3 separate regions of the Homo sapiens genome follow, and all the other regions are linked to region 3. The links are contacts of gene promoters, found by promoter capture Hi-C in blood cells and fetal thymus (Javierre and others, 2016). All regions are on one chromosome and are shown on one strand. Each heading gives the region's core, a stretch centred on a gene start or on the middle of the fragment in contact. The rest is flanking DNA. Distances are from core to core; before and after follow the strand shown.

The links. Contacts are between HindIII fragments. The CHiCAGO score rates a contact against its expected background, and 5 or more counts as called.
Region 1: a fragment that was not itself captured here is called in contact with the fragment with the promoter of SCFD2 in region 3 in 1 of 17 cell types (neutrophils); the score reaches 5.6 in neutrophils.
Region 2: a fragment that was not itself captured here is called in contact with the fragment with the promoter of SCFD2 in region 3 in 1 of 17 cell types (neutrophils); the score reaches 5.5 in neutrophils.

The regions. Positions count from the first base shown.
Region 1 is chr4:54,179,916-54,184,595 of GRCh38, forward strand. No RefSeq gene overlaps it. Among named protein-coding and RNA genes, the nearest start is that of PDGFRA, 47 kb to the right of the region's middle. The HindIII fragment of the contact is 7,036 bases long and covers 1-4,680 here.
Region 2 is chr4:54,255,239-54,259,501 of GRCh38, forward strand. It overlaps PDGFRA (platelet derived growth factor receptor alpha), which reads left to right. Exons shown (of 23, transcript NM_006206.6): 2 at 3,519-3,579. The coding sequence starts at 3,531. Among named protein-coding and RNA genes, the nearest start is that of PDGFRA, 28 kb to the left of the region's middle. RefSeq lists a silencer at 1,203-1,429. The HindIII fragment of the contact is 3,584 bases long and covers 48-3,631 here.
Region 3 is chr4:53,363,964-53,368,417 of GRCh38, forward strand. SCFD2 (sec1 family domain containing 2) reads right to left here and starts at 2,098. Exons shown (of 9, transcript NM_152540.4): 1 at 1,141-2,098. The coding sequence starts at 1,978. RefSeq lists enhancers at 1,524-1,573, 1,794-1,993, 2,014-2,063. The HindIII fragment of the contact is 6,997 bases long and covers 1-2,778 here.

The DNA.
Region 1 (4,680 bases), core at 406-2,905, 820 kb after region 3:
AGGTTGCAGTGAGCCAAAATCATGCCATTGCACTCCAGCCTGGGTGACAAGAGCCAAGACTCTGTCTCAAAAAAAAAAAAAAAAGAATAAAAAGAAAAGTTATGTTTCATATTGGTAATGATCATTTATTGGTTACTTCCCTGGCATCTATCTTCCAGTTTTCCCTTTACCTTTACTCCACAATGTGAAAACCTCCACAGTGTAAAACCCTCATTCCTGGTCATGTGATTTGGGTGGAACCAACTTTACTCCAAATGACAGGGGTGGGCTCTGATTGGCTTATGTCCCATGGTCACTTGTGTTGGTTCTGGGGTGATATGCTGCACAGTCAGAGACAACAAGATGCCAGGAGATGTTTGTTGGCCTTCTGTTGTGGAAAAGCTGGGCAATTTCCCTGCATGGTATGAGAACTAGAATTGCGCCGGGCGCGGTGGCTCACGCCTGTAATCCCAGCACTTTGGGAGGCCGAGGCGGGCGGATCACAAGGTCAGGAGATCGAGACCGTCCTGGCTAACGCAGTGAAACCCCATCTCTACTAAAAATACAAAAATTAGCCGGGCCTGGCGGCGTGTGCCTGTAATCTCAGCTGCTGGGGAGGCTGAGGCAGGAGAATGGCGTGAACCCGGGAGGCGGAGCTTGCAGTGAGCCGAGATTGCGCCACGGCACTCCAGCCTGGGCGAAAGAGTGAGACTCCGTCACCAAAAAAAAAAAAAAAAAATGATAACTAGAATTATGGAAGTTTCCTTCCTTCCTTCCTTCCTTCCTTCCTTCCTTCCTTCCTTCCTTCCTTCCTTCCTTCCTTCCTTCCTTCCCTCCCTGCTTGCTTGCTTTCTTTCTTTCTTTCTTTCTTTCTTTCTTTCTTTTTTTGACTGAGTCTTGCTGTATCGCCCAGGCTGGAGTGCAGTGGGGACGATTTCGGCTCACTGCAACCTCTGCCTCCTGGATTCAAGCGATCCTCCTGCCTCAGCCTCCTGAGTAGCTGGGATTACAGGCATGCACCACCAGGCCCAGCTAATTTCTGTATTTTTTAGTAGAGATGGGATTTCACCATGTTGGCCAGGCTGGTCTTGAACTCCTGACCTCAGGTGATCTGCCCACCTCGGCCTCCCAAAGTGCTGGGATTACACGTGTGAACCACCAGGCCCAGCCAGAAGTCATTTTTCTATAAGCAGAGGAAAGGAGATCCTAGAGTTGCCAGAGAGCCACAAAGTGGAGTCTAACGGTAAAGCCAGACCATAGAAGGCAGAAAAGAGACATATAGAAAAAAAATGGGTCCTTGGAAACATTATTCGAGCTGCTAGATACAGCCTTGCCTGAAGTTAACATTGCCTCTGGAGTTTTTGCTGATGAGACCGATAAATTTCTATTATTATTTAAACCAAATTGAGTTGTTTTCCTCACTTGCAAGTGAAAGATCACTGAAACAATCTGTACCTCTTAGTTTCCAGGTTTGCCTCAAGCACCCTAGTTCAGGCCCTCTTTCCTCTTGCCTGGACTACTGCACTCTCTTAACTACAGGCCCTATTTCAAGACTTTACCTTCAGATCTCTACTTCCCTACTGGGTTAATATCTATTTTTTTTTTTTTTTTTTTTTTTTGAGACAGAGTCTCGCTCTGTCACCAAGGCTGGAGTGCAGTGACGCAATCTCTGCTCCTTGCAACCTCCGCCTCCCGGGTTCAAGCAATTCCCCTGCCTCAGCCTCCTGAGTAGCTGGGATTACAGGCATGCACCACCACGCCCAGCTAATTCCAGCTAATTTTTGTATTTTTAGTAGAGAGAAGGTTTCACCATATTGGCCAGGCTGGTCTTGAACTCCTGACCTCGTGATCCACCCGCCTCGGCCTCCCAAAGTGCTGGGATTACAGGCGTAAGCCACTGCGCCAGCCCATGGGTTAATATCTCTTAAGCACATCTACAGTCATATCTCCTTGCTCAAAGACCTTCAGTGGGTCTCCAGTGCTGACTGGACTGTACTAAAAACAAACATCTTATTTTGACATTCCAGGCCCACCTCCGTGTTTCCCAGCCATTCTTAAGGCTTCCCATGATCTCCATTCAATGTTGGTAAGTCAGAAAATATCTTTTCACTTTTTCTTATTCTTTTTTTTTTTTGAGATGGAGTTTAATTCTTGTTGCCTAGGCTGGAGTTCAATGGCGCGATCTCGGCTCACTGCAACCTCCACCTCCCAGGTTCAGGCGATTCTCCTGCCTCAGCCTTCCTGAGTAGCTGGGATTACAGGCATGTGCCACCAGGCATGGCTAATTTTGTACTTTTAGTAGAGACGGGGTTTCTCCATGTTGGTCAGGCTGGTCTTGAACTCCCGACCTCAGATGATCTGCCTGCCTCGGCCTCCCACGCCTGGGATTACAGGCATGAGCCACCGCACCGGCCAACTTTTTCTTATTTGACAGCTCATTAGTGTTTAGCATTGTTGATGGCTCTCTACTAAGACGTTCTTTTCCCTAGTGTCTGTAATACAGCATTCAGATTGTTCTTCTCTACTCAAATATTAAATGTTGGACTTTTTCACGTTTGTATTCTAGTATTGCTTTCTTCTGAGTTGACATACATCACATTTTCTGGACATCTCTCATCTATTCCTATGACTTAAAATTCCCCCTTTTTGTCTTTACTTTCTTTTTCTTTTCTTTTTTTTTTTTTTTTTTTTTGAGACGAAGTTTCGCTCTTTGCTCTTTTCATCCAGGCTGGAGTGCAGTGGCGCGATCTCAGATCACTGCAATCTCCGCCTCCCCAGTTCAAGCAATTCTCCTGCCTCAGCCTCCTGAGTAGCTAGGATTACAGGTGCATGCCACCACCAGCTAATTTTTTGTATTTTTAGTAGAGACAGGGTTTCACCATGTTGGCCAGGCTGGTCTCAAACTTCTGACCTCAAGTGATCTGCCCACCTTGGCCTCCCAAAATGCTGACATTACAGGCGTGAGCCATCGCACTTGCTTTTTTTTTTTTTTTTTTTTTTTTTTGAGACGGAGTTTTGCTCTTGTTACCCAGGCTGGAGTGCAGTGGCACGATCTCAGATCGCTGCAACCTCTGCCCCCCAGGTTCAAGAGATTCTCCTGCCTCAACTTCCTGAGTAGCTGGGATTACAGGTGCCTGCCACTACACCCAGCTAATTTTTTGTATTTTTAGTAGAGAAGGGGTTTCATCATGTTGGCCAGACTGGCCTCGAACTCCAGACCTCAGGTGATCCACCCGCCTCGGCTTCCCGAAGTGCTGGGATTACAGGCATGAGCCACCGTGCCCAGACTTTTTTTTTAAAAAAAAAAAAAAAAAAAAAAAAGATGAGGCCTCACTATGTTGCTCAGGCTGGTCTCAAACTCCTAGGCTCAAGTGATCCTCTTGCCCCTTGGCTTCTAGAGTCACTGGGACGGCAAGGTGCACCACCACATCTGGCTAAAATACCTTTTAAATGCCAATGACTCCTAAATCCAAGGCTCCAGCTGAGACTTCTCCTCTAAGTTTCAAGTCCCAACATCCATTTTTTCCATTGGACATCCTCATCTCAGCCTTTCCACGTTCCCCTTTCCTACTCCCATAGTTGTCACCACTTATCTAGGTGCTCATGCCAGAAATTTCGAAATTATGCTGGTCTCTTGCACCTTTTTAATTCTTCAAATCTAATCAAACACTAAATCCTCTCAATTCTACATGCTAAACATCTCTTGTCTTTGTTACTTCTCTCTGTTCCCTGGCCGTCACCCTCTAGGAAAAGCCAAAAATCACCTGTCCTGAACTATTCAATAGTCTCCTAACTGGTTTCCCAACTCCCACAACCTTTCAACATTTACTGGGGGGCTTAATTAAAAATACTAAACACAAATTGGGCTGGACGCAGTGGCTCATGCCTGTATTTACTTTTTTTTAATTTAAATTTAATTTCTTTTATTTTTTTAAACAGAAATTCACTCTGTCACCCAGGCTTGAGTGCAGTGGTGTGATCTTGGCTCACTGCAGCTTCTCTGCCTCCCAGGTTCAAGCGATTCTCCTGCCTCAGCTTCCTGAGTAGCTGGGATTACAGGCACACACCACCACCCCTGGCTAATTTTTGTATTTTTAGCAGAGATGGGGTTTCGCCATGTTTGACAAGCTGGTCTCAAACTCCTGGCTTCAATCGATCTGCCTGCCTTGGCCTCCCAAAGTGCTGAGATTATAGGCATGAGCCACCATAAAATACTTTTTAAAATTTTAAAAATACAGAAGGAGTCTCACTATGCTGCCCAGACTGGTCTCAATCTCCTGGACTCAAGCAATCCTCCCATCTTGGCCTCCCAAAGTGCTGGGATTATAGTTGTGAGCCATTGTGCTGGCCTCATGTATATAATCCCAGCACTTTGGGAGACTGAAGTGGGAGGATTGCTTGAGGCCAGGAGTTCAAGACTAGCCTGGGCAACATAGCCAGACCTTGTTTCTACAAAAACAAGAAAACTATCCAGGTGTGGTGGCGCATGCGTATCATCCTAGCTACTCAGGAGGCTGAGGTGGGAAGATCGCTGGAGCCTAGGAATTTGAGGCTGCAGTAAGCTATGATTGCCGCCACTGCACTCCAGGCTGAGCAACAGAGTGAGACCCTGTCTCTTGAAAATAAATAAATAAACACAAATTCTGTCTTTCCTTTTTAAAATGTCATGCTTACATGTGCGTGAAGATTGAAAATAAATTA
Region 2 (4,263 bases), core at 590-3,089, 890 kb after region 3:
AATGATTTCTTTTTGTTCTATCTACTCCACCTCCCTTTCCCATTAGAAGCTTGCTACCTTTCACTCTGTGTTTTCTTCCTCTCCCATTTTCCTGGTGGCATTCAATAAAGCAGAATTCTGATTTCTGCAATGTAGGCCACCTTAGAGCAAAATACATGATCAGGCACCACCAAATTAGGCTATTATCTACTGGATCCTGTTTAACCAACCCAAACCCAACTCAGGCTAAATACAGGAATACAAGAAAACGCTGAATTTCTCCCCTTTCTTTTTTTTTTTTTTTTTGAGACAGAGTCTTGCTCTGTCACCCAGGCTGGAGTGCAGTGGCGCGATCTTGGCTCACTGCAAGCTCCACCTCCTGGGTTCACGCCATTCTCCTGCCTCAGCCTCCTGAGTAGCGGGGACTACAGGTGCCTGCCACCACGCCCGGCTAATTTTTTGTATTTTTAGTAGAGACAGGGTTTCACCGTGTTAGCCAGGATGGTCTCCATCTCCTGATCTCATGATCTGCCCGCCTCAGCCTCCCAAAGTGCTGGGATTACAGGCGTGAGCCACTGCGCCCTTCCCTCCTTTTTTTTTTAAAACAACAACAACAACAACAACAAACAGTTTATTCAGTAATTATGTATACGTATTTTAGCTTCCAAAGTCAGTGATGGAACAAATTGAGTCCTATTAGGCCCACTCCATTGCATGAGTTAGCATCAGAGGAGGTCAAACTAGAGTGACTTCATCTTGAATATGGGCTAGGTAAGAAGAGGATGAGGCCTGCTGGGCTGCATTCCCAGGAGGTTAGGCATTTGTAGTCACAGGATGAGATAGGAGTTGGGTAGGAATGGTTTCATAAAGACCACAGGATGCAAGCTGGGTGTGGTGCCTTATGCCTGTAATCCCAGTACTTTGGGAGGCCAACGCAGGAGGATTGCTTAATCCTAGGAGTTCAAGACCAGCTTGGGCAACATAGTGAGACCTCATCTCTACAGATAATTTTTATTTTATTTTATTTTATTTTTTTGTGATGGAGTCTTGCTCTGCCGCCCAGGCTGGCGTGCAGTGGCATGACCTTGGCTCACTGCAACTTCTACCTCAGGGGTTCAAGCGATTCTCCTGTCTCAGCCTCCTGAGTAGCTGGAATTAGAGGCGCACACCACCACGCCTGGCTAATTTTTTTGTGTTTTTAGTAGAGATGGGGTTTCACCATGTTGGCCAGGCTGGTCTCGAACTCCTGACCTCAGGTGATCCACCTGCCTTGGCCTCCCAAAGTGCTGCGATTACAGGCATGAACCACCGTGCCCAGCCTCTACAAATAATTTTTTTTTTTTTTGAAATGGAATCTCAGTCTGTCGCCCACACTGGAGTGCAATGGTGCGATCTCAGCTCACTGCAGCCTCTGCCTCCCTGGTTCAAGCGATTTGCCTTACAAATGATTTTTAAAAAATGAGCTGGGTGTGGTGGTTTCACAAGATACGGGTGATAAAGACCCCAGGATGCGGGCCGGGTGTGGTGGTTTATGCCTGTAATCCCAGCACTTTGGGAGGCCAAGGCAGGAGGATTGCTTAAGCCTAGGAGTTCAAGACTAGCCTGGACAACATAGTGAGACCTCATCTCTACAAATAATTTTTTAAAAATGAGCTGAGTGTGGTGGTGCAGGCCTGTAGTCCCAGCTCTTGGGCTAGGCATGGGGGTCAGCTCAGGTGGGAGGATTGCTTGAGCCCAGGAGTTCAAGGATACAGTGAACTATGATTGTGCCAGTACACTCCAGCCTGGGCAACAGTGCAAGACCCTGTTTCATAAACAAATTAAAAAACCCCAAAAACCTAGGATGCAATGAAGAAGGAAGCCGAAACCCACCAAAACCAAGACGGTGATGAAAGTGACCTCTGGTCATCCTCACTACCCATTATATGCTAATTATAATGCATTAGCATGCTAAAAGATACCACCAGCACCATGACAGTTTACAAATGTTGTATTAATGACAGGAAGTTACCCTATATGGTGGAAAAAGGAAGGAACCTTCAGTTCTGGGAATTTCCTCCCTGTTTCTGGGAAAATCATGAATAATGCACCCTTAGTTTAGCATATAATCAAGAAATAACCATAAGTATACTCAGTTAAGCAGCGTGGCTGTTCTGCCTATGGAGTAGCCACCCTTTTTTATTCCTTTATTTTCTTAATAAATTTGCTTGAATTCCTTCCTGGGTAAAGCCAAGAACCCATGTGGCCTCCCATGGTGATCTCCAATTTTGGGATTCACCATGTGACATTAGGAGCAACTTAGGGATCTGGTGCATCCCAGGCCAAGACTAACATGGTGATTTTTGGGGGGTTATGTTAAAACTGGGGGCTCTGCCCAGGCCCCTCAGTGTGGCTTCTTGAGTCAATACCTGGGTACTTACTGGCCCTAGCACCTACAAGTTCATTCACAGTTCCTTCTCACTGACTTCACCAGTGACCACTATCAGTGACTTCAAGGGAGAAATGAGGGGGGAGATAAAATAAAGTGAATGGGGAAGAGATAAAGAAGAGAGGTCTTTTCACAGTTTGCCAGAATAGTCCCTTCAGTGGTTTTACCCCAGGGCAACAGGAGCCCCCTTTTAGTTTCTTTCTCTTTTAATTTTCTTTTCCCTTCCCACTTTTTGCCCACTTTTTGCCTTATTTGTGTCTGACTCAATTTCCGTCTCTTTCTCTACTTCTTCATTCCCAGATTTGGCTGTAGAAAATTAGAAAGTTCTTGAACTTGGTTTGCACGGGTGCTTTTACTTTAACATGAAAATGAATGATCAGCCTCCTTCTAATTTCATCCTAGAGTCTACTGCATCCCTCCTACCCCCTGCACAGGAATTTAGTCACACTTATCTCTCCCACTTTCTCTCCCTTCTTCACTTTCTCTATTGCTCCTCCTTTCATGCTTGTACCTGCTTTTCCATGCCCTGTTTAGCCTGGCTTGGGATCCAGCAGGTTCTCCAAGGGTTCCTGCAAGAACCCCGGCTGGGTGCCCAGGTCTGAGCCTGGTATGTGCCTCAGTATCACAAAGGCCTCCTGTAAATGACACACATTGTTGGAAGTTTCAGAAATTCTAGGTCAAAATGGCACTGAAATATTAAGGTATTTACCCCAACCCAAGCAACTTTTCTAAAAGTTGTAGAGAGTGTGACCTCTTTATTAATTGAAACGTGAAAATCAGCTCTAGTTTGGAAGCTGAGAAAAAATATATATATATGTATTTATTTCTTTGTTGTTTGAATTCTTAATATAAATGGTTTAAAGGACCATTGAAAACTGCATGCAATCACAGAAGGTTTTGGCTTCAGGCAGCTCCCGCCATGATCTTGGGGCCCCATTGATTCTTTCATCTTTCAGGCGTCTTACTGTTTGAACCTTGAATTTTAACCTGGGACATGTTTGACTAAAATGATGCTGTTAATATTTTCTGTTGTGCAAAACACAAAGAGAACTAGGCTCCAGGGTTGTTTCTATTTGCTAATGCTGTTTCTGTTGACTTTTGACTTTTCTAGTTTCCCAGAGCTATGGGGACTTCCCATCCGGCGTTCCTGGTCTTAGGCTGTCTTCTCACAGGTACGGAGCCCAGTCCTCTCTGAGTTCCTTGTTTGGGTGTCTTGTTTTTTTAAGCTTTGTGCTGCATGGGTTTATTACCAGTACTCTGCATACACAGTCCAAAAGAGTGAAAAGAAATAGAAAACTATAGGACGTTATCCAGAATGACCACAAACCTTCAGTTCCCTTTGCTGTATTGCACTTACTCCATTTCAAAAGGAATGCTCTCCAGTGGCAGTTTTAGTACATATATAATGTTGGCATTGAAATGTTGTTAGTAATAATGTCTAAATTTACTTACTACTCTCTTCCTTTTCCTAGGACAAGGCTTCTATTAGAGCTGGATTAGATAAATTCAGGAATGGTCAGCTGTGGGAGGTGGCACATCTGTTGTCCCAGCCCCTTGAGCAGCTGAGGTGGGATGATCCCTTAAGGCCAGGAGTTCAAGGTTGCAGTGCACTGTGATTATGCCTGTGACTAGCCACCACACTCCAGCAACATAGCAAGACCTCATTTAAAAAAAATGTTCAAAGGAAATAAATAATAGAAAATTCTTGCCCAAGAAATCATACTTGTCTTAAATCATAACTCTCTTGAGGAAAGATGCTTACATTGCTTCTAAATCTCAGAGTCACCTTTATCTTCTCTAGGAATCAAATTGATAGATGAATGTTTGGCTCTTGGAAAATCTTAAAAACTTTCCCA
Region 3 (4,454 bases), core at 848-3,347:
ATGAAACAACTTTGCTACATTTTTGGCATAAAGAGATAGAAGTAACAGTAATATATAGCATCCACAAAAAAACTCAACAAGCATCTACTTATCAGGTTTTATCTTTTAATCCCCTATGGACTCTGTGATGCTACAGTTATTACTTATATATTTAAATCACAGACTGGACACCTGGTTTTTCCAGTCACATAATTAAGTTTACATCTCAGTATTACCATTTAGCCTACTTTCCATTTTTTATCTGAAAATTAATCTTATTAAGATTAAAAACTCAAATATACCTATTTCGTTTTTTATAACTTAATTCAACTTTTTTTCTGACCGATTAAAGGGAATGCCTACCAATGTCAGTTTTCCGATTATTCTCCCTGGACTTGGAAGTGGCTAGGCTATATTACTAACAGTATTATACAACCTAATTAGAGAACAATAAAGTTGACCTTTGAAAATAACATATCAAACATCAGAAAGTGTCTTTTCTTCATCTGCTTTAAGGATTACATTTGTTTCTTTTGTGTAAATAATACATTATTACAATTTGAGATTATTTACTTAATCTTTAATACAATGAGAGCTAAAAATAAATCAATAAACATTTGAAAATATTTTCTACAATTCTATTTCATCTCATTTACTAGTAACATTTAAGTTCAGCCTCACTTTTGAACACTCATTTCCTAAACCTCAATTGTCTGTAATAATTTTATGTTTTCTTGTGCAGTAGTTTTCCTTCCGCTGGGTCATCTATTAACACTTCTCCAACAAACCAGAGTCTTCTTATGAAGGACTGTTGTGAATACTGGCATTCGTAAATTTCTAAAAATAAAATTTCCCAGGTGCACAGTTTTCCTCCCTGTCAGCATAATCTTGGGCTAAAGTTGTTGTTTAACAAGGCAATGGGCATTTATGACATTTCTACCCATTACAGCATTTAACAAATGTTATTGTAATTGCTAATTCACCTGTCTGTATTCCACTTTAGACAATAAACTCTGTGAGATTAGAGACCGTGTCCATCTAGTTCATCTTTGTATCCTCAATCTAATATATAATAAAAGGTCAATAAAATATATGCTGAATCAATGAAAGTCCCAGCAATGTGGGGAATGGTAATGAAGAACTCCAGAGCAATGCACTTACCTGTGAGATCCAGGGTTCTGTCCACAAAAACCACTGATGCCCTGCCTGCAGCAGTCTTCTTCCTGTTCTTTGCAGGGGCATAATTGGCCAGATCCGCAGCGATGACCTGACTTAAGGAACCTACAGCAAAACACTCCTCCCGTACTCCTAAATGTTCACACAGAGAACTGAGGCCTGACACTAGGCATCTGATCTGCAGCAGCAGCTCTGGGGTTAGCGTAGTGGAGTCCACATCACCCAGGCTTCCCAGCTTCCTCTTGTCCGGTCGGGCGCTATTAAGGAGGTGCACATCCTGGGGTAGCAGTGGGAAAAGGGATGCAAAAGCTGGAGTCAAGGCAAAGTGGGGAGCAACAGGGGCAAGCAATAACGGGACATGGAACACCTCGGCCGTGTAGTTCATGTTGCCCATCCATTCACACAGCTTCTCCTCCAGCTGCTCGAACACCGGCTGCTGCCCCTCCATCTCGGCCGCTGCCGCCGCTGGGACATGATTAGCTGTGAGGTGGACAGCGTGGCTCACGGTTGTGACCACCACACAATACTGGAAGTGACTGCGGCAGATGATGTCCCGTAGGATCTCCACGGTCCGGCCTTTCAGCAGGCAGCTCAGCACAAACACTGCCTTGGGCTGCTTGGCTCCACCACCAATTGCGTCGGGCTCGAACTCTCGCAGGTGACAGTCAGGACCCCCCACCGCCTCCAGGAGACGGGTGGATCCGCAGCCCCAGTGCAGGCTCTCGGCGCAGGCGGCGTCCAGGTAAACCACAGCCCGTTTCACTTTGGCCAGCACCTGCTCCCATCCTTGCTGGGTAAAGGACAGTACGCCCGAGGCGCTCATGGTTGGGGATTCGCAGACTTGGGAAACTACGGTGCAGGAACTTCTTTCAGAACTCACCGCTTCCGGAAATTGGGCTCCGGGAGACTTTGACAGTCTCCACAGTACACGTGGTCGGCCTCTGACACGCTCCCTGATGGCGCTCGGTGATGACGTTAAACTGAGCGGTGATTGGCTAGAGAGGAGGCCGGGAGTGAGGAAGGATGGCGCGGTCGGGAAAGAAGTGGGTGGGGCTCTGTGGCTCCGGGCTTCCTCAAAAGCTCGTGGAGATCAGGTGTTTCCTGAGATGGAGCTGAACTGAGTTCTTTCCGTCGCTCGGCCTGTCTGCGCAGATAATCTTCTCAGATAATCTTCTCATGTTCCTTGAAAAGTCTCCGAAATAAAAACCTAATCCGAAATTTGGTATCTTCCTTAGATATGAACACGTCTCCAAAAGTACAGCCACCTTCTCAATCTAAACTCAGAGCAACTAGAAAAAGATAATAAAAACAACCGTGTGCAATATTTTGGGTTTATAGATTGCTGTCACATACGTTATCGCCCACAAGCCTCATAACAAACCCTGTTGTTCTCATTTTCACTTTCTCCATCTTTCCTCCCTCATCTCATCGTCACTACATCTTATAGGCTTAAAAACTCTCAGAATTCAGCCCTTCCTCTCCATTTTTGCTGTCACAAAAACCCAACATCATCGCTCACCCAGGCAATGATCTCCCAACATTTTCTGACTTTTGATCTCTTTACCCTCCAATTCTATTTTCTTCCTAATAAACAAAGTTGGTCCTACAACTTTCCTGCTTAAAAGCTTCTCCTAGCCCAGTTGCCTATAGGATACATCCACACTCTTTAAAAAGCATCAACATCCTTCTTGATTTCTCAATTTCTCTCCAGCTATTCCCAACATGGAGAAAAATTGTACCGATACAATGAAGTCAATAGGCTGAACCCAAAATGTTTTATGGGTTCTGTTTGTTCCACCAATATACTTACATTACTAAGTATAATCTCTGTGCTAAGCTTCAAAGATGCAATGGTTAATAAAATTCATTACCTAATCCACAAAGAATTTACCTGGTAAACTTACCGAAAATAATCATTCCAACAGTACTGCCTGTGAGAGACTTTTTCTAACTCACCACCACTATCACCCTATCACCTCTCACTTCCCCCACCTATCAAACCACTCAATTGATACATTCGCTAAGTACTTGCCATATCATGGGGTAAGTATTAACACTATTTTCTTTAAACTATCTGTTTTGCTAAATTATGCACTAGATGCTTGGTATCCCCAACACTTATAACAGGTGTTCAATAAATGTTCGTTGAATGAATGTTCAATTAATATCCATGGCCAGGCGCGGTGGCTCATGCCTGTAATCCCAACACTTTGGGAGGCCGAGGTGGGCAGATCACCTGAGGTCAGGGGCTCAAGACCAGCTTGGCCAACATGGTGAAGCTCCGTCTCTACTAAAAGTACAAAAAATAGCTGGACATGGTGGCAGGTACCTGTAATCCCAGCTACTCGGGAGGTTGAGGCAGGAGAATCACTTGAACCCAGGAGGGAGAGGTTGCAGTGAGCCAAGATGGCACCACTGCACTCCAGCCTGGGCGACAGAGCGAGACTCTGTCTCAAAAAAAAAAAAAATTCCACATAATAATATATCCAGCCAATTTTTAATAAATACGTACAGTATTCCAAACACTGTCTGGGTTTTAAGGATATAAAGAAAACTAAACCACAGCCCTGATTTCAAAATAATTATGATGAAATAAAGGGACCCACACATGTAAAACAAGTGCAATAAAATGTTACAGAAGCAAATACTTTTTAAAATTTTTTGTATAGGAGTCAAGAAGGAGGAAAAATAAATTCTAAGAGAAAAAGGAAGAAGTCAGAAAAAGCTTCATATAGGGCATGAGTTTTGACTTGCCTTCAAAGAAACCCAGGTGTTCACCAGGTGGACAGGATGGGGAGGAGGATTCTTAGCAGTCCAGGCACAGAGTGCAGCATAAACAAAGTCGTAGAGGCATAAAACAGTACAATATGTTCTCTGGAACTACAAAGGGTTTCCTATAGCTGGAGTGCATTGTATGAAAAAAGGCGCAAGAAGAAATAAGAGCAAGGAATTAGAAAAGAAAGAAATGGGCTAGATCAGCAAGAGCCTTATTTTCCATTCTAAGTAGTAGCAGCCAGTGGGGAAGTATTAATGTATTTTGGGGTATGGAAATAATTTGTTCACATCTGGATTTTAGAAAAAAAATGGTTCTAGTCAAAACATGGAAAATAATTTGAAATGGAGCAATTTAGCGCAGAGGGAGCAGTTAAGAAAATAATAGTATCAGCAGCAAATCTGGGTGAGAGAGTTGAAAAGCGTAACAAGCAGATGGACAGAGTGGGGAGTATGAATAGACGTTAAGAATATAGTGCCAAAGGGCTTGCTTATTAGTTTGACAGAGAGGGTGACACGGAAGGAGA